Linked DNA regions of Homo sapiens: region 1 is linked to region 2. Evidence: promoter capture Hi-C in 16 types of primary human blood cells and fetal thymus (Javierre and others, 2016). All regions are on one chromosome and are shown on one strand. Each heading gives the region's core, a stretch centred on a gene start or on the middle of the fragment in contact. The rest is flanking DNA. Distances are from core to core; before and after follow the strand shown. Region 1 has its middle 8.4 kb from the start of ACBD6. Region 2 holds the start of MR1 (major histocompatibility complex, class I-related).

Evidence for each region. The method cuts DNA at HindIII sites, captures the fragments that hold promoters and counts their contacts. A CHiCAGO score of 5 or more calls a contact.
Region 1: a fragment that was not itself captured here is called in contact with the fragment with the promoter of MR1 in region 2 in 14 of 17 cell types (total CD8 T cells, naive CD8 T cells, naive CD4 T cells and 11 more); the score reaches 12.9 in total CD8 T cells.

Annotation. Positions count from the first base shown.
Region 1 is chr1:180,508,486-180,513,505 of GRCh38, forward strand. No RefSeq gene overlaps it. Among named protein-coding and RNA genes, the nearest start is that of ACBD6, 8.4 kb to the left of the region's middle. The HindIII fragment of the contact is 760 bases long and covers 1,663-2,422 here.
Region 2 is chr1:181,030,047-181,035,454 of GRCh38, forward strand. MR1 (major histocompatibility complex, class I-related) reads left to right here and starts at 3,937. Exons shown (of 6, transcript NM_001385161.1): 1 at 3,937-4,028. The coding sequence starts at 3,962. RefSeq lists enhancers at 3,117-3,306, 3,507-3,606, 3,737-3,846. The HindIII fragment of the contact is 2,248 bases long and covers 3,275-5,408 here.

The DNA of each region.
Region 1 (5,020 bases), core at 793-3,292, 520 kb before region 2:
CCTCGGCCTCGGCAGTGCTTGAGGAGCCCTTCAGCCTGCCGCTGCACTGTGGGAGCCCCTCTCTGGGCTGGCCAAGGCTAGAGCCGGCTCCCTCTGCTTGCAGGGAGGTGTGGAGGGAGAGGAGCAGGCTGGAACCGGGGCTGCGCGTGGCGGTCGCAGGCCAGCGTGAGTTCCAGGAGGGCATGGGATCTGTGGGCCCTGCACTTGGAGCGGCAGACCGGAAACACTGGCCCCGGGCAGTGAGCGGCTTAGCACCTGGGCCAGCAGCTGCAGAGGGTGGGCCGGGTCCCCCAGCAGTACCGGCCCACCGGCACTGCACTCGGATCCTCACAGGGCCGCAGCTGCTTCCCTGCAGGACAGGGCTCAGGACCTGCAGCCCACCATGCCCGAGCCTTCCCCCACCCCGCCATGGGCTCCTGCGCAGCCCTAGCCTCCCCAACGAGTGCCGCCCCCTGCTCCGCAGCACCCGGTCCCATCTACCGCCCAAGGGCTGAGGAGCCCGCAGGCACGCAGCGCTGGACTGGTTGAACAGCTCCGCCCGCTGCCCTGGCACGGGATCCACCAGGCGAAGCTGGCTGACCTCCTGAGTTGGTGGGGGGAGGTGGGACTTGGAGAACTTTTATGTCTAGCTGGAGGATTGTAAATGCACCAATCAGCACCCTGTGTCTAGCTCAAGGTTTGTGAATGCACCAATCAGCAGTCTGTATCTAGCTCAGGCTTTGTAAATGCATCAATCAGTGCTCTGTGTCTGGCTAATCTAGTGGGGGACTTGGAGAACTTTTGTGTCTAGCTCAGGGATTGTAAATGCACCAATCTGCACCCTGTCAAAACGGACCAATCAGCTCTCTGTAAAATGGACCAATCTCAGCAGGATGTGGGTGGGGCCAGATAAGAGAATAAAAGCAGGCTGCCAAGAGCCAGCTGCGGCAAGTCGCTCAGGTCTCCAGCTTAGTTGTTTTGCTCTCTGCAGTAACTCTTGCTGGTGCTAACTGTTTGGGTCCGCACTGTCTTTGTGAGCTGTGACACTCATGGCGAAGGTCTGCAGCTTCACTCTTGAGGCCAGCAAGACCACGAACCCACTGGGAGGAATGAACAACTCCAGACGCACCGCCTTGAGAGCTGTAACACTCACCGCCAAGGTCTGCAGCTTCACTCCTGAAGCCAGGGAGATCACGAACCCACCAGAAGGAAGAAACTCCAAACACGTCCGAACATCAGAAGGAACAAACTCCCGACACACCATCTTTAAGAACTGTAACACTCACCGTGAGGGTCCACGTTTTCATTCTTGAAGTCAGTGAGTTCAAGAACCCACCAATTGCAGACACAATAACTGTTTCAGTAGCATAACTGAAGTCAGGGCAACCAGACAAAATATTTTCCTCGTTACAAAAGTAACTGCACTGGGTTTAGTACAATTTAGGTTTTTGTGAAATATTGACATTTAAAAAATTTTTGTATCAATACCTTTTGAGGTATAAATTTTTTTTGTTATATGGATGAATAATGTAGTGGTGACTTCTGAGACTTTAGTGCACCTGTCACCCAAGTAGTGTACATTGTACTTAATATGTGGTTATTTATCTCTAACCCCATTCCCACCCTCCCCCTGCTGAGTCTCTAAACTCCATTATACCACTCTGTATGTCTTCATGTACTCAAAGCTTAGCTCCCGCTTACAAGCGAGAACATACAGGTTTTGGTTTCCCACTCCTGAGTTACTTCATTTAGAATAATGGCTTCCAGCTCCATACAAGTTGCTGCCAAAGACATTGTTTTATTCCTTTTCATGGCTGAGTGGTATTCCGTGGTGTCTATATACCACATTTTCTTTAGTCATTGGTTGATGGGCACTTAGGTTGGTTCCACATCTTTTGCATTTGTGCTACTATAAATGTGTGTGCAAGTGTTTTTTTTATATAAATGACTTCTTTTCCTTTGGGTACATACAGTCAGTAGTGGGCTTGCTGGATCAAATGGTCGACCTACTTTTAGTTCTTTAAGGAATCTCCATACCATTTTCTATAGAGGTTGTATTAATTTGCATTCCCACCAGCAGTGAATAAGCATTCCCTTTTCCCCACATCCATGCCAGCATCTATTGTGTTTTGACTTTTTAATAATGGCCGTTCTTACAGGAGTAAGGCAGTAACTCATTGTGGTTTTAATTTGCATTTCCCTGATGATTAGTAATGTTGAGCATTTTTCATATGTTTGTTGGCCATTTGTATATCTTCTTTTGGAAATGTCCGTGCATGTCCTTTGCCCACTTTTGGATGGGATTTTTTTTTTTCTTGCTGATTTGTTTGGGTTCCATGTAGATTCTTGACACTAGTCCTATGTGGGATGCATAGTTTACAAATATTTTCTCCCACTCTGGGTTGTCTGTTTACTCTGATTATTATTTCTTTTGCTATGAAGAAGCTTTTTAGTTTAATTAGGTCCCATTTATTTATTTTTGTTTTTGTTGCATTTGCTTTTGGGGTCTTAGTCATGAATACTTTGCCAAGGCTGATGACTAGAAGAGTTTTTACAATGTTGTCTTCTAGAATTTTTATGGTTTCAGGTCTTATATTTAAGTATTTGATTCATCTTGAGTTGATATTTGTATAAGATGAGATAGGGATCCAATTTCATTCTTCTACATGTGGCTTGCCAGTTTCCCCAGCATCGTTTATTAAATAGGATGTCCATTTCCCGATTGATGTTTTTGTATGCTTTGTCAAAGATCAGTTGGCTGCATGTATTTGGGTTTATTTCTGGGTTCTCTGTTCTGTTTTATTGGTCTGTGTGCCTACTTTTATACCAGTACCATGCTGTTTTGGTAACTGCAGTTTTATAGCATAATTTGAAGCTCGATAATGTGATGCCTCCAGATTTGTTTTTTTTGATTAGGATTGCTTTGGCTATTGGGGCTCTTTTTTTCGTTCCATATGAATTTTAGAATTGTTTTTTCTAATTCTGTGAAAAATGATGTTAATGTTTGGCAACTTTTTTTACATTAGCACCAAAATACTGATTGATCCATTAAAAATACATTAATTCCTGATATGATTCAGACACAGTGCTAACTCCTAAGAATACTACAATGAACAAAATTTTCTTTCCCTCACTCTACTCCAGCCACATGAACCTCCCTGTAGCTCTTCTACAAGTCAAGCATGATCCAACATATTACCATTTTAGTATCCTTGGACTTGTTATTCCCTCGTTCTGGAACACTTTGCCCCAAAATATCCACAATTTGCCCTCATCTCTTTCAGGTCTTTGCTCAAATGTCACATTAATAAAAGCTTCCTTGACAACCATATTAAAAACTTGCGACCCGACTCCCAGCAACACTCTCTATTCTACTTCTTTAGCACTTGTTGCATCTAATACGTGGTATCTTTTACTCATTTATTACATCTAATCTATATAAGTTTCATGAGGGAAGGGATTTTTGTCAGTTTTTATTGCTGCTATACTCTCCAGAGTTGACACATAGCTAAATATTTTCTTTTTTTTTTTTGAGATGGGGTCTCAGTGTGTCACCCAGGCTGGAATGCAGTGACACGATCTTGTCTTGCTGCTGATACGGTTCCAATGAGTGGAGGAACACCAGGGTTCTTCGTCTCGAGTCAAATTAGATAAAACGGCATGGACACACGTAGTGGTTTTCAGGAGCAGAGAGTTTAATAGGCAAGTAAGGAGGAAGAAGCTCCCCCATGCACAGACGAGGGGGAGGGGGCAGAGGGGCTCCAAAGTGGAGAGATGAAACCCCACAAGCCATGGAAAAGTGGCTGCTTACACGAGTAGACTGGAGGAAGTGGTGTCTGATTTGCGTAGGGCTCAGGGGATTGGTTTGATCAGCCACGTCTTTCATGGTAGCCTGAGGAAAAAACTGGCCATCCCACCCTAGCCTTTTAAGATGCAAATTCAGGGTGCCATGATGTTCCACACAGGTAGGGATATATGGGGGCAGCCATGTTACCAGGCACATGTTTGGGCAAGGGCAAGAAGAAGGGGGCAGGAATTGCCATGTTTGGGTGGACCCGGTTTCTAATGGCCTGTATTTGCGTATCAAAGGTTGCTGGCCTAGCTCTAAGAGCCAGGGCTTTCCTGCTAGACAAGAAATGTTTCTGGAGCTGCTTTAAAAGAAATAACTTTACAACAACCCCTTTTCCTCTCTATCTGCCTAACATAATTTCTTAATAACTCTTGTAACACTGCAATCTCCCCCTCCTGGACTCAAGCAATCCTCCCACCTCAGCCTCCTGTGTAGCTGGGACTACACGCGTGCACCACCACCACGCCTGTGTAACTTTTGAATTTTGGTAGAGATGGGGTTTCGCCATGTTGCCCAGGCTGGTCTCCAACTCCTGACCTCAAGTGATCTGCCTGCCTTGGCCTCCCAAAGTGCTGGAATTACAGGTGTGACCCACTTCGCCCAGCCAGCTAAATCTTTATTGAATAAATAAATGAGTGAATGTGTAAAAGACACAGTCGTTGGCCTTTTTTTTTTTTTTTGAGATGGAGTCTCGCTCTGTCGCCCAGGCTGCTCCACCTCCCGGTTCATGCCATTCTCCTGCCTCAGCCTCCCGAGTAGCTGGGACTACAGGCACCCGCCACAATGCCCAGCTAATTTTTTTTTGTATTTTCAGTAGAGACGGGGTTTCACCGTGTTAGCCAGGATGGTCTCGATCTCCTGACCTTGTGATCCGCCCGCCTCGGCCTTCCAAAGTGCTGGGATTACAGGCGTGAGCCACCGTGACCAGCTGCAGTCATCATTCTTTAAGGGTTTATAGATAGTAAATTAATAAGGTCGGTAAAATACTGCAAGTGATGCAGAAAAGGGCATGTCAGGCAGGAGTTGCATGGGCAAAAGCATAGTAGTAGTGCAAAAACAGCAACCAGTGTTGCTTGTTTTCACTTGAAAATAAGTAAGATTCAATAAGCAAACAGCAGAAAAGCAGTTAGCTGTTTTCCTCTCTTATCTAGTATACATTTATAATTGGGATGTGTGTTATGTAAACAAATG
Region 2 (5,408 bases), core at 2,687-5,186:
GTGCTGGGATTACAGGCGTGAGCCACTGCGCCTGGCCTCTTTTCTTAAATTATAGGTTTATTTGGGATTACTTAAGACAGCTGATGGCCATTATGCGTGTGTAGTAAAAGTACTCTAATGCCCCAACAAGTGACAAGTCACTTCTTGGTTCCACCACTGCTGATTTCATTGAATCCTCACAATAATCCTGTAAGGCAGAATTGGTTATTACCTCCATTTTCTATGAGAAATCCCAGACTTAGAGAAGTTAATAATTTGGTCAAAGGTCACATAGGTAGGAAATGTCAGAGCCTCATTTGAAAATAAGTTTGACTCCTGAACCCATGTTCTTTGCTACAGTATTCTACTCCCATTTGTACAAGGACTAGCCTTGGCCAAAAATTGGCAAATGGATTTTACCTACCCACAGAAAAGGGCTCAAATCAAACTCGACACAGACACAGACACAGACACACACACACACACACACACACACACACACACTTCTACTGAATTAAAAAAGAAATAGCCAAGGGGAAACTACTGATTAAATATAATAAAATATATTATGTTGAAAACAACATTATTTAACAAACAAGACCCTTTTGCTAACTTGATAATTCATCATTTGGTTTTTAAGGATGAATTGCACTAACTGCAAATGAGTCAGATTCCTCAGAGGGGCCTTAAAATACATATAATAAATCAGGTATTAAAAAGCCAAACACATAAAGGGATTTATAATGAACAGGATAAGCACAACCCACTCTGAAAAGTGCGGCCTGAGATTTAAGTTTAGACTATTGCTCAGAGGTGAGGCTTGTTTTTCCACAAAGAGAATGCGAGGGATTCTCCCTACCTCAGTGCCTCCCAGCTTAGTGGGGCAGTCTTACCTGTCCTTGAAGATCTTGGCATAATTGAATCTATTAAAAATTTTAAGGACTATTAAAGCTATGCTATTAAAAACTGCATATTAATATTGGAAAATATAAATTTGAAAAGAATTTACAAAATACTATTAGGACGTAAAACCCTTTTTTGGTAAAATGAACAAATAAAGGTATGCTTATATGCAGACATATGTAGTCAGCAAAACCACTGAAAAGAAATACACTAAAATATGTTAACAGCAAATTTTTTCCTTTCTTCCTCCCTCCTTCTCTCTCTCCTTCCTTCCTTCCTTCCCTTCTTTCTTTCTGTTGCCATGGTTGTAGTACAGTGGCGTCTCAGCTCACTGCAGCCTTGACCTCCCTGGCTCAAGCAATCCTCCCACCTCAGCCACCTAAGTAGCTGAGACTACAGGCGCATGCACCACACCTGGCTAATTTTTTGTATTTTTAGTACAGATAGGGGTTTCACCATGTTGCCCAGGCTGGTCTTGAACTCCTGGGCTCAAGCAATTTGCCCACGTCAGCCTCCCAAAGTTGGGATTACAGGTGTGAGCCACCATGCCCGGCCAACAGCAATTTTTTCTGATGGGTGATTTTTATCTTATCACTCTCTGGGTTTTTTATATGTATTTGCCCTGTACTCTGGATTAAATTTACTAATTTGCAATTAGAATACAATGACTTAAAAAATGAAAGACATCGGTCAGGTGTGGTGGCTCACGCCTGTAATCCCAGCACTTTGGGAGGCCAAGGTGGGTGGATCCTGAGGTCAGGAGTTCAAGACCAGCCTGGCCAACATGGGAAAACCCCATCTCTACTAAAAAGACAAAAATTAGCTGGGTGTGTAATCCCAGCTACTCAGGAGGCTGAGTCAGGAGAATTGCTTGAACCTGGGAGGCGGAGGTTGCAGTGAGCCGAGATGGCACCACTGCACTTCAGCCTAGGCGACAGAGTGAGACTCTGTCTCAAAAAAAAGAAAGACATCGTTGACATACCTACATTTTTTTTTTTTTTTGAGATGGAGCCTTGCTCTGTCACCCAGGCTGGAGTGCAGTGGCACAATCTCAGCTCACTGCAACCTCTACCTCCTGGGTTCACACCATTCTCCTGCCTCAGCCTCCCGAGTAGCTGGGACTACAGGCACTCACCACCACGCCTGGCTAATTTTTTGTATTTTTAGTAGAGACAGGGTTTCACCATGTTCCAGGATGGTCTCGATCTCCTGACCTCGTGATCTGCCCGCCTCGGCCTCCCAAAGTGCTGGGATTACAGGCGTGAGCCACCGCGCCCGGCCTCATACCTACTTTTTAATGTCAGTACAGCAGGTTATGGTATGGAATGCATTTTGGAACAAGATATTAACAAAAATTCAAAGGAAAAAATACATGGCCATGGAATTCCAGTGCTGAGAGACATTTGGGAATATTGGGGGAGTTTTCCAAAAGAGAAATCCAGGTGACTGTATTTGTTAAATGAGTAACAAAAGGAAAAACAATGTAAAGAAACAGAAAGGAAAGGAAGAGAGAAATACAAAGATCTGAGAAGAGAAGGTGCCAGGGGCCGCTGAGAGATTGCCAAATGTTAATTTCATTATTTGGCTTCTTATTTTATTCTGGGTAAAGGTAGACCTATTAGTTTCCTGTTGCTGCTATAACAAATTACCACCAACTTAGTGGCCTCGAACAATGCAAATTTATTCTTTCAAAGTTCTGGAGGACAGAAGTCCAAAAATGTGTCCTATCAGCTGAAATCAAAGTGTTGTGTTCCTTCTGGAGGCTCTAAGGAGAATCTGTTCCTTCTCTTTTCTAGTTCTAGAGGCCATCTGCGTTCCTTGGCTCATGTCCTTCTTTCAGCAATGGCATCATCACTCTGACCTTTGCTTCCATTGTCACATCTCCTTGACTCTGACCCTTTTGCCTCCCTCTAATAAGGCCCCTCTGATTACACTGGGTCCACCAGATAATCCAGGATAGCTCTCTGTCTCAAGATCCTTAATTTAATCATATCTGCCAAGGGTTTTGTTTTGTTTTATTTTGTTTTTGCCATTTAAGGTAATATATCCACAGGTTCTGGCAATTAGGTTGTGGACATCTTTGGGGCGACAATTCTCAACCTACCATACAACCGGTACATAAGGTTCTACTACCTACTAAATGCATCATAAACAGAACTTCTGATCCTTCAACAACTCTGTGAAATATATGACAGGATTTGCTTTTAAAGTTGAAGAAATCAGGCCTTGGTGCAATTTGGGATTCTGCCCATGGTCAAATAGTGGGGAGGCAAACCCAGGTCCCTGAACCCAGCTCAAGCCTGCCTGCCTCATGGCCATGCCTCCATTCACCTCTCCCCTTCATGTCTACTTCCTCTTTCCTGTCTGGGCCTGTTCCCTAGCTCCCTGGACAAGCTTAAGCTGCTGTTTTCCAGCTTGTCATGTGCTCCTTATGACAGTGTAGCCACAGCTTGATCTTGGGGATTGCTGATTGAGCAAGCTGAGTGGCTGCCCCTCAGAATCTTCTGTAGGCCTTTCTCTTGCCTTCTTTTATTCAGTAAGTGTTTTGAGCTTATTGTGCTGGGTGCTAGAGTAGCAGGGAGGACAGACCTAAGTTGAAGATTACGGGACAATCTAAGTGACACCTGCTATCTCAGACAGAGACTTCAGCATCATAGGGAGCCAGAGCAGGGAGTTCCAAGCCGTGGGAACTGTGACTCTTTCTTACTGACCCTTAAGCAAAATTCTAAGCTCCAGGGAAGCAGAGGCAGCAGCTTGAGCTCCCTGATTGACCAGATATGATTAATCTTTGTTTCTCTGTGCTTTGAACATGACTATGCTCCATAAATATTTAAAAATTGGGAATAGGGTGAAGATAGATACACCAAAAGGAGCAAGCAGTGTCTGAAACCAGCAAAGACTTAAAAGTTACCGAAGAAGGTGTTCATGCTTTCATTTTATCTTTTTTTTTTAACCTAGCAACTGATGACACTGCATATCTTCCCCTGTTCTTATTGGGAGAAGGCCTTGTGTGTCACCAAGAGGTTCTCAGAAGGGACCTGTCAGTTTTTGGTTAAAAGAACCCGGAAAGAGAAGGACTATGGGGGAACTGATGGCGTTCCTGTTACCTCTCATCATTGTGTTAATGGTGAAGCACAGCGATTCCCGTGAGTATCCCACGTCCTCTTCTCTCCTAACTCCAAAGTCGAGGCAGCCTAGAAGGCACAGCTTTTCTTCCTAAAACTTGTGGTGAAAAATATAGAAGCCAGGGGCAGAAACGTGTATGTATTACACTCAGACTCCAGGAGCAATGGATTGCCTGAACAGTTTCCCAGTTCATATTTGTAGGATTTTGATGTCACCACCTTCTGAGGGAGGGGGAGCCGTTCTAGAAAGACTCTGGAACTTCCTCACTTTCCCTCTGAGCATGGCCTCCTTTCTTTTCTGCTCATATTTTTTCTTTTACTTTTGTTTCTCCTCTTTTCTAACTTCCAGAGTCTCATGAGGATGTAGTCAGAGTTTCAGGGGCATTAACAGTGGAGTAGATCCATTGTTCAGGTTTATTTATGTTTTTCCTCAACACAAGCCCTACCTGTAATAAAAGATCCAAGAAAGATAAAACCATGGCTCTGGGTTTGTTTACTGACTGTGAGAAGTATTAATCAAGTAGAAGGGAGAGTTTTTCATTATTCGGGGAGCTCAAGTCACTGGGGAAGCAAATGCCTTCTGTTGCCTCAAATAGGGGAAAGGGCCCATGGGCTAGAACCACCAGGCTTCTCTGCCCTAATCACTTGCTCCCTGGGCTGAGGACTGGTACTGGTGGGCAGTGTCCAGAACTTAGACTTGGCCACCACCATAGGTGTGACTGATGAACATGAGAGGAAGGAGTTCTTTCAAATCACCCATGCACATAGAGAGTGGAATGACTGACCATGGAGATTTGGAAGGGCGAGGGGGGTGGATGATTAGAAATTACTTAATGGGTACAATGTGTGTTACTTGGGTGATGGATACCTTAAAGCCCCAACTTGACCACTACACAATCTATGCTATAACAAAATTGCATGTGTACATCATAAATTTATACAAATAAAAAAATTTTAAATCATATGGCTGGGAGTGGTGGCTCACACCTGTAATCCTAGCACGTTGAGAGGCCGAGGCAGACGGATCGCTTGAGGTCAGGAGTTTGAAACCAGCTTGGCCATCATAGTGAAACCCCATCTCACTAAAAATACAAAAAATTAGCTCGGCACACCCATCTCTACTAAAAATACAAAAAATTAGCTGTGCACAGTGCGCACCTGTGATCCCAGCTACTCGGGAGACTGAGGCAGGAGAATCACTTGAACCCAGGAGGCGGAGGTTGCAGTGAGCCGAGATCATGCCACTGCACTCTAGCCTGGGTGACAGAGTGAGACTCCATCTCAAAAAAAAAAAATCCATATATTAATTGTTCAAATATTGATTGATGGCCTACTATGTGCCAGGCACTTTGGGGGATATGGCAGCGAACAAGACAAACATAGTCTCTGCTTCCATGAAAA